Regions from separate parts of the Homo sapiens genome. Here all the other regions are linked to region 3. The links are contacts of gene promoters, found by promoter capture Hi-C in human tissues and cell types (Jung and others, 2019). All regions are on one chromosome and are shown on one strand. The core of a region is centred on a gene start or on the middle of the fragment in contact, and the rest is flanking DNA. Distances in the headings are between cores, read along the strand shown. Region 1 overlaps DNAJC1 (DnaJ heat shock protein family (Hsp40) member C1). Region 2 overlaps KIAA1217. Region 3 holds the start of MSRB2 (methionine sulfoxide reductase B2).

What was found. The method cuts DNA at HindIII sites, captures the fragments that hold promoters and counts their contacts. A contact is called where the count stands out against the background at its distance.
Region 1: a fragment that was not itself captured here is called in contact with the fragment with the promoter of MSRB2 in region 3 in 1 of the 25 tissues and cell types used here (lymphoblastoid cells).
Region 2: a fragment that was not itself captured here is called in contact with the fragment with the promoter of MSRB2 in region 3 in 1 of the 25 tissues and cell types used here (mesenchymal stem cells).

The regions. Positions count from the first base shown.
Region 1 is chr10:21,790,512-21,793,299 of GRCh38, reverse strand. All of the region lies in intron 9 of DNAJC1 (DnaJ heat shock protein family (Hsp40) member C1), which reads left to right. Among named protein-coding and RNA genes, the nearest start is that of DNAJC1, 210 kb to the left of the region's middle. The HindIII fragment of the contact is 6,292 bases long and covers 1-2,788 here.
Region 2 is chr10:24,254,759-24,257,669 of GRCh38, reverse strand. The region is part of intron 2 of KIAA1217; the gene reads right to left. Among named protein-coding and RNA genes, the nearest start is that of MIR603, 19 kb to the left of the region's middle. The HindIII fragment of the contact is 4,955 bases long and covers 1-2,911 here.
Region 3 is chr10:23,094,210-23,096,935 of GRCh38, reverse strand. MSRB2 (methionine sulfoxide reductase B2) reads right to left here and starts at 1,357. Exons shown (of 5, transcript NM_012228.4): 1 at 1,210-1,357. The coding sequence starts at 1,327. LOC107984215 (a long non-coding RNA gene) reads left to right here and starts at 1,657. Exons shown (of 3, transcript XR_001747394.2): 1 at 1,657-2,116. RefSeq lists a silencer at 1,080-1,549. The HindIII fragment of the contact is 14,874 bases long and covers 1-2,726 here.

The DNA of each region.
Region 1 (2,788 bases), core at 221-2,720, 1.3 Mb after region 3:
ATGGAGCGCCCAGTTGCCCAGGCTGGAGAGCAATGGCACAATCTCAGCTCACTGCAACCTCCACTTCCCGGGTTCAAGTGATTCTCCTGCCTCAGCTTCCCAAGTAGCTGGGATTACAGGCATTCACCACCACGCCCAGCTAATTTTTCTATTTTTAGTAGATACAGGGTTTCACCACGTTGGCCAGACTGGTCTTGAACTCCTGACCTCGGATGATCTGCCCTCCTTGGCCTCCCAAAATGCTGGGATTATAGGCATGAGCCACCGTGCCCAGGCTCATAGAAGCTTTTTATCTAAGGAACTTCCCTTCTATTTCTAGCTTGAGCATTTTTATCATGAATAGACATTGGATTTTGTCACATGATTTTGCTTCATCTATTGAGATGATCACATGATTTTTATCCTGTGTTTTATTAATATGGCATAGTATATAAATTGATCTTTGGATGTTAAACCAACCTTACATTCCCACTTGATCATGTTGTATATACATTTTATATGGTGCTGGATTTGGTTAGCTAATTTTTTTTTTTTTTTTTTTGAGGTGTTGTCTCACTCTGTCACCCAGGCTGGAGAGCAGTGGCACGATCTCAGCTCACTGCAACCTCTGCCTCCCGGGTTCAAGCAATTCTCCTGCCTGAGCCTCCAGAGCAGCAGGGATTCCAGGCGCCTGCCACTATGCCTGGCTAACTTTTTTGTATTTTCAGTAGAGACAGGGTTTCACCATGTTGGCCAGGATGGTCAGAAACTCCTGACCTCAAGTGATCCGCCCACCTCAGCCTCCCAAAGTGCTGGGATTCCAGGCATAAGCCACCACACCCGGTCAAGGTTAGCTAGTAATTATGGATTTTTGTTTCTTTGTTCATGAGAGCGAATGGTCTATAGTTTCCTTGTGATGTCTTTGTCTGGCTTTGATATCAGGGTAATGCTAGCCTCATAGAATAAATAGAAAGTGTTCCTTCCTCCCCTAATTTCTGAAAGTTTGTGAACAATTGTTATTATATCTTCTTTGAGTATCTGATAGAATTCACCAGTGAAGCCAGCTAGGCCTTGGCTTTTCTTTATGGGAAGACTTTTAGTTACTAATTCATTTGTTTTTAAGTTATTACGGGTCTATTCAGATTTTCTATTTCTTCTTGATTAAATTTTAGTAATTTCTAGGGATTTATTCATTTCATTCACATCAGCGGTTGTGCTCTGAAAGTGCTTGAATAATAAAAGTGTGGCTGATATTCTCTCCAAAGAAGATTTTTTTTTGACCACAGATTTCATTTCTTTAATGATGGGTGAACTATCCATGTTTTTCATTTCTTTTGGTTACGCTAAGCTAACGGTTTATCAATTTTGTTGATCTTTTCAAAAAATCAACTTTTTGTTTCATTGATCTTTGGTATGGTTTTTTCAGTTTCAATTTTATTTCTACTCTGAACTCTATTATTCCTTTCTTTCTGCTAACTTTGGGTTTGGTTTCTTGCTTTTCTAGTCCTTGAAATGCATCATTAGGTTATTTATTTGAAATCTTTCTCCTTGTTTATGGCTATAATCTTGCCTCTAATATTGCTTTTTCTGTATTCAGTAGATTTTGATTTGTTGTGTTTTTAATTTCGTTTGTTTCAAGAATGTTTTTAATTTTCTTTTAAATTTTTTTATTGACCAATTGGTCGTTCAGGAGCACATTTAATTTTCATATATTTGTATGGTTTTGAAAGTTCCCTTGGTATTGATTTCTAGTTTTGTTTCACTGTGGTCAGAGAGGATACTTGATATGATTTCTACTTTTTAAAAATTTGTTGAGACTTGTTTTGTGGCGTAACATGTGGTCTGTCCTGGAGAATGTTCCATGAGCTGATGAGAAGAATGTGTATTCTGTAGCTGTTGGATGAAGTGTTCTGTAAATGTCTGTTAGTTCCATTTGGTCTAAGATGCAATTCAAATTCAGTGTTTTCTTGTTGTTGATTTCCTGTCTGAATGATCTGTCCACTGCTGAGTGTGGGGTGTCAAAGTTCCCAACTGTTGTTGTATTGGAGTCTATCTCTCCCTTTAGATCTAATAATATTTGCTTTTATGTATCTGGTTTCTCCAATGTTGGGTGCATATATATTCACAACTGTGCATATATATTCACATCTTGCTGAATTGATCCTTTTATCATCATATAATGACCTTTTTTGTCTCTTTTTGCAGCTTTTCACTTAAAGTCTGTTTTATATGATATAAATATAGCTATGTCTTCTCACTTTTGTTTTCCTTTTGCATGGAGTATCTTTTTTCTTCCTCTACTTTCAGTCTGTATGTGTCTTTATAAGTGAAGTGAATTTCTTATACGTAGCATATAGTATAGTTGACTCATATTTTTAAAAATTTTATTTTGCCAGTCTATATCTTTTAAGTGAAGAATTTAATCTGTTCATATTCAAGGTTATTATTGATAAATGAGGACTTACTCCTGTCATTTTGTTCATTGTTTTCTTGTTGTTTTAGGTATCTTTTTTTCCTTTCTTCCTCTCATGTCATTGTGGTTTGGTGGTTTTCTGTAATATTAAGATTTGATCCTTTTTCTGCTTTGTGTATTTGCTATAACAGTGAATTTTATACTTTTGAGTGTTTTCATGATGGTGATTATCATCTTTTTGCTGCCAGATGCAGGACTTCCTTGAGCATTTCTTGTAAGGCCAATGTAGTGGTGATGAATTCTCTTAGTTTTTGCTTGTCTGGGAAAGATTTTCTTTCTCATTTCTGAAAGATAGTTTTGCTGGGTACAGTATTCTTTGGTGGCTTTTTTTTTTTT
Region 2 (2,911 bases), core at 162-2,661, 1.2 Mb before region 3:
TCAGTGTCCTCATCTGCCATTTAGGGAAGGCTGGATACATCTTTCAGCTTCTGTGTTCTCTGATTCCCTGAGGTTGACTTTGATCTGAGTTTGTTTTGATTCTCAAATCAAGACTTGGTAGACTTCACTAGGTGGTAATGCAACTAAAAAAGGGTCCTGGGATGGGATGAGGGAATCAAGGACTCATTTTGATCCAGGATCTAAAAGTAAAAAAGAAAATGAGAAAGGGGAAGGGCCCCACATCTCATCCGGGCTCCCCACAGATGTCTGGTGAACACGTGTGGGCCTCAGGGGAATTTGGAGTATGGTTCCAACCCTCCCTCCACCCCCCACGCCGTTCCATCCTTTCTCAGGAATAAGCTTGGCACTTTTTGCCAAACACTTCTCTAGTAAATATCTTTGTTTCCATTCCCCCAATACACCAAAGTTTTTTAAAGCCATTAGAAAACCAGGTAGAAACTGAAGAGCCTCTCTGGACAGAATATTCTTCAACAGTACGAGGGGCAGAACTGAAGTCTCCATGTAGAAGTCATTACACTGCCTTTTCCCATTAGGCCACCAGTACCATGGCCATGGGTTTCCTTACCTCACTCTATTCATGCTACCTTTGAAAAAAATTGTTTTCCTGACCATCTTGTTTCATACATTTATATGTCCCCAAATCCCTTTGCTCTGCTCAGTCCAAAATACCTTCAGTCTTTCCAACTCCCTGGGCCTTCTTTCTCTCCTGCATATAAATGGCTAGCAGCTGTTTTCACTGACCTATGACCTTATGATGCGTCCCACTTTGTTGTTATTCTCTGTTGACCAGATATTCCATATCTTGGCCATGCATTTCTTTGGCTGCTGGCTCAATATCACCTCAACACAAAGATATCTGAACGAAACACTCTGGGCCACAAAATCAGCCTCTAAGACTGAGATAGCAGTGGTATGGTCAGAACCAAAATAAGGCAAAGCAGACAGACACACACACACACAAAGCAAATCCTCCTACTGCTAACAGTTTCTACTAAAATGTAAAACTAAGGCTTTTGAAAACCAGTGTTGGTTCTGTTCCTTCAGGAAAATCACAATTTCTCCTTAATTCTATTTCTACTTCAAATGTGGGGACTGTGCTTTTTTTTTCCCAAGGTTTCTTTCAGGACATCTTAATTTAGGCAATGGGAAGCCAGAGACATGGAATGAGGCATCAGATAGCAAGCCTTATCACCTGCACTTACTCCAGGGCCAGGGATTTTCATGCTTGAGGGTTTGCTTTTTATTTTCTATGGGCTTTGGCGAAGTCTCTTCTCTGCTTCTACAGTCTCAAAACATTTTCCTCATGGGAAAGACAGTTAGTTAACTTCTCAAGCACTAGGAAGAACTGAGATCTCTGCTGCCTCCACTCCAAGGATTGCCACTATGGGCTCCAAGCCAGATCAACACTGTCTGTGTGCAGAGTTGTAGTCAGGCAGGAACAAGATGGGACATGCCAGACCTCATCTGCACTTTGCGAAGGTGACACACACCAGCCCCGCAGGCAACTGTGCCTGCTTTTAGAAACTCCTAAGCAAAGTACTGAGGCAGAACCAGAGGGAGAAGTGAGGGGAAAAGCAGCTTTTTTTTTTTTTTTTTTTTTTTGGTCATCTGAGCTTGAGTTAATCGGCAGCACTCGGCTTTCTAACCTTTGAGGCATTTCTAAATCTGATCCCACACACTCATTCTTTCAGAGCCCGGCAAGGTAAGATGAACTGATTACACCATACTTAGAAACATCCTGTAGAATCAAAGAAAAATGCTTCCTGCCTTTGTACAGAAAATTAAGAGATTTTTCAAAGTGAAGAAAAGCAATTTAATTACCATTAAACAAGGTTTAACTGCTGTGGGCAATCATTCTCTGCTTGAGAAGCATAATTTCACTTGAAAGAAACCAGATTGGCCCCCGGCCCTCTTTTGGCTTATCCTCAGCAAGAAGCGACTGGGAACAACTGACTCTTGGGTGAGCTGTCCAGATAGTTAGAAACATATCACACAGCAGTTTAGGGACCCCAGGGGGGGCAGGGAAACCCCAGAATCAGGCCACTCCTGTACCTTGCTCCTGTCTGCTGCTCGGAAGGGCCCCCCACAGCAGAAACATGTGATGCCTCCTTTCTTCTTTGGCCCTTCTACAGAAGGGCAGACATGGGTCTTCATGTCCAGATGTGGCATGGAACATCAGCCAGACCTTTAATGTTCTGGGAGCAGTCCAGTGCTGAGCCCACGGGTGGCGGGACCCGCCCGCTCCACAACCAGCTCGTCCATTCTCCCAGCAAGCAGGCCTGACGCACCCCTGACAGTCAGCCGCTCAGGATTTGAAGTGTGATTCACAGCTAGAAAATACCGGTTTTTCATTACTATGCAAATGCCACCTGGGTGGGGTTTAGGTAAATCCGGATGTGGACACTAACAATGAGGGCAAGAATGGGTCTCTTTTCCGTAGTTCTCACTGGGCCCAGTGGGTTCCACCCAGTGGCAGTCTTTAAAGAAAATTACAGGCCGGGTGTCATGGCTCATGCCTGTAATCCCAGCACTCTGGGAAGCCGAGGGAGGTGGATGGCTTGAGGTCAGGAGTTCGAGACCAGCCTGGCCAACATGGTGAAACCCTGTGTCTACTAAAAAATACAAAAATTAGCTGGGCATGGTGGCGGGCTCCTGTAATCCCAGCTACTTGGGAGGCTGAGGCAGGAGAATCACTTGAACCCAGGAGGCAGAGGTTGCTGTGAGCCAAGATTACGTCATTGCACTCCAGCCTGGGTGACAGAGTAAGACTCCGTCTCAAAAAAAAAAAAAAATTAGAGTTGAACAGAGTTGGACGGAGACATTTATAGTTCCCCAGTATCCAATGGGCAGTTAATGTTCACATATAGCCCAAGGTTAGAGACAGATCTTT
Region 3 (2,726 bases), core at 108-2,607:
TGCTTCTGACAGCAGCAATTACAGCCATGAAGTAGTTACCGCTAAAACCACCATCCTTTTTCAAGGGGTTATAGAGAGCTCGTCGGTAACTGTGACCTGTTTCTATCACCTGTGGTTCTCAGCAATACAATGCTTGGCACACAGTAGGCTCACAGCAAATGTCATCAGACTGACTAGAGACACCAGTGATTAGAAAGGCCATAGCTGGAAGTCAAGTTGGATGAGCTAACATTCCACAACGCCAACGCTTTTATTTAGTTACGTATTCTTTCAATATTGCATTTCGAAAACTTCAGGGGCTAAAAAGAGCTCAGAATGAGTTGGTACATTTTCATCAGTTGGGTATCTCTGAATGTCTTCAATGAACACATATAAAATTGGATTCAGAGTGGGTCAGTCTGGCAACCGCCCAGGAAGCCAATCCCCTGGGGCACTAAGTTACCCTGAAATAGAACTGAAATACAGGGGTAGCTGGCACAGGTCTCCCGAGGTGACTCCTTCCTGCTTGGTGAAATGTGCAGGTACCCAGATCCAAGAGAGGATCCAAAAGTATTTAGCAGAAACACACACACACACACACACAGAGAGAGAGAGAGACACACACACACAGGCTCGCCCTGGTCTCTGTCTCAGTCATTAACAATGGCTGTCACCTTAAAGAAGGAACAAATGATCAACCCAGTCTCCCTGGCTCTTAGACACATTTATGGGAAGTCAGCAGGGCAGGAAACACTCACAGGAACCCCAAGTCTGAACTGCCTGCTTCTCAGATGCTGGAAGGAAGCCCGCGGAACTACGAAGAGGGCTGCAATGCAAAATACTAGGGGCCTTCGCAGGGGCGCGCGGGCCGGGCTGCTACAGCCCAGGCCCCGGGCCTTCGCCTGGAGTCCCCGATAGGGGTCAGAGGCCCCCGAGCCCCACTTATGCCCCCACTCCCCGAGCCAAGAAAAAAAAAATTATGCGCACATTTAGGGGGATCATTTGTTCATTTCCTCGGATTCTCACAGGGGTCAGTCCCCACCCTGCCGCCACCAAGTTTACAATCCACTGTCCCAGATCCTCGGGCTGGGGGGGGGGAGGGGCGCGCCGAGGAGGGCTTAGTAGGAGGGCAGCGCCCGGCCTGGACCGGCCCTAGGCTCCCGGGTGCAGCCGGTGAAATGAAGCCGAAAGCCGTAGGCGGCGGCGGGGCCTGCGGGACCCGCGTCCTACCTGCCTCCCCCAGTCCCGGCCCGGTGCCGGGCCCGCCGCCGCCCGCTTGGCCCCGCACCGCCCGCCGAGGCGCAGTTCCGAGGGTCAGGCCCCGGAGCAACCAGAGGAGCCGCGCCATGACGCCCGCTCCGGCGCCGCTCCGCCCTCTGCCCTCTGCCCGTCTCTGCCCCTGCTCCCATCCCACCCCTCCCCCATTCTCTCCCGTCCGCCTGCGCTAGTCGGCCTCCCTCCCCACGCTCCGCCCACACCGCCAGTCCCCTCGTCTCCCTCCCCCTCTTCTCCCTCCCCTGCCCCTCCCTCCTTCCCTCCTTCCCACCTGCTCCTCCCACTATGTGCCCTGGGCCCTCCCAGGTCCCCGCCCCTCTTTCCTCCCACTCTGCCTCTCTCTCCCCCTCCCTCTTCCTCTCCTTTTCCCCTTGCCTTTCCTCCCCCTTCCTCTCCCCCTTCCTCTCTCCCTTCCCTTCCATGAGACCCTCCCCAACCCATCTCTGCATCTCCCAGCTCCTCCCACTCCTGCTCCTCCCTCGCCCTGCCCCCCTCCACCTATCCCAACTCCACTCATCCGCAGCCCAAACACTGATCTGTTTTAGTTTGCATTTTCTAGAGTCGTCCATAAATGGAATCATCCCATATGTACTTGATTTTGTCTGGCTTCTTTCACTCAACATAGTTACTTTGACATGCCTGCGTGTTTTTGCATGGAACAATCATTCATTGCTTCCTGAGCAGTATTCCATTTATGGATATACCACCGTGTGTTTAGTCAGCACTTGATTTAGCCTGCTTTCAATTTTTCCTGATTAGAACTACAGCTGCTAGGAACATCCCTGTGCAAATCTTTGTACAGACATATACGGTTTTTCCTCTCTGGGGTAAATACCTGGAAGTGGAATGCCCAGGTCGTAAGGTAGGTGTAACCATTTAAGAAACTACTATACTGTTTTCCCAAGTGGTTTTTTTCTTTACCTTCCCACTAGCAGTCTATGCGAGTTCCAGTTGTTCTTCATCCTTGCCAACACTTGAAAGTCCAGAGATTTTAACTGTAGATGTTCCGGTTCTGTGTAGTGGTAGCTCATTGTGGCTTTATTATGCATTCTCTAATCGTTAATGATGTTAAGCATCTTTTCATGTGCGTATTTGCAGCGAGTGTATTTTCCTTGGTGAAGTGTCCGTTCAGATCTTTTGCCCATTTAATGTTGAGTTGTTTCATTATTGAGCTTAGAACACTTTATATATTTTGGATGCAAATCTTTTATCAAACATATGCTTTACAAAGATTTTTTTTCCCAGTCTCTTGTTTGTCTTTTCTGTCTCCTAATATTGTCTTGGGAAGAGCAGTTTTTAATTTTGATGAAGCCCAATTTATCAATTTGTTAATGGATTGTTCTTTTTTTGGTATCATATTTAAGAAATCTTTGCCTAATCCAAGATCACAAAGATTCTCTCCTATGTTTTGTTCTAAAATTTTTATAGTTCTAGGTTTTACATTTAGGTCTCTGACCGATTTAGAATTTTTA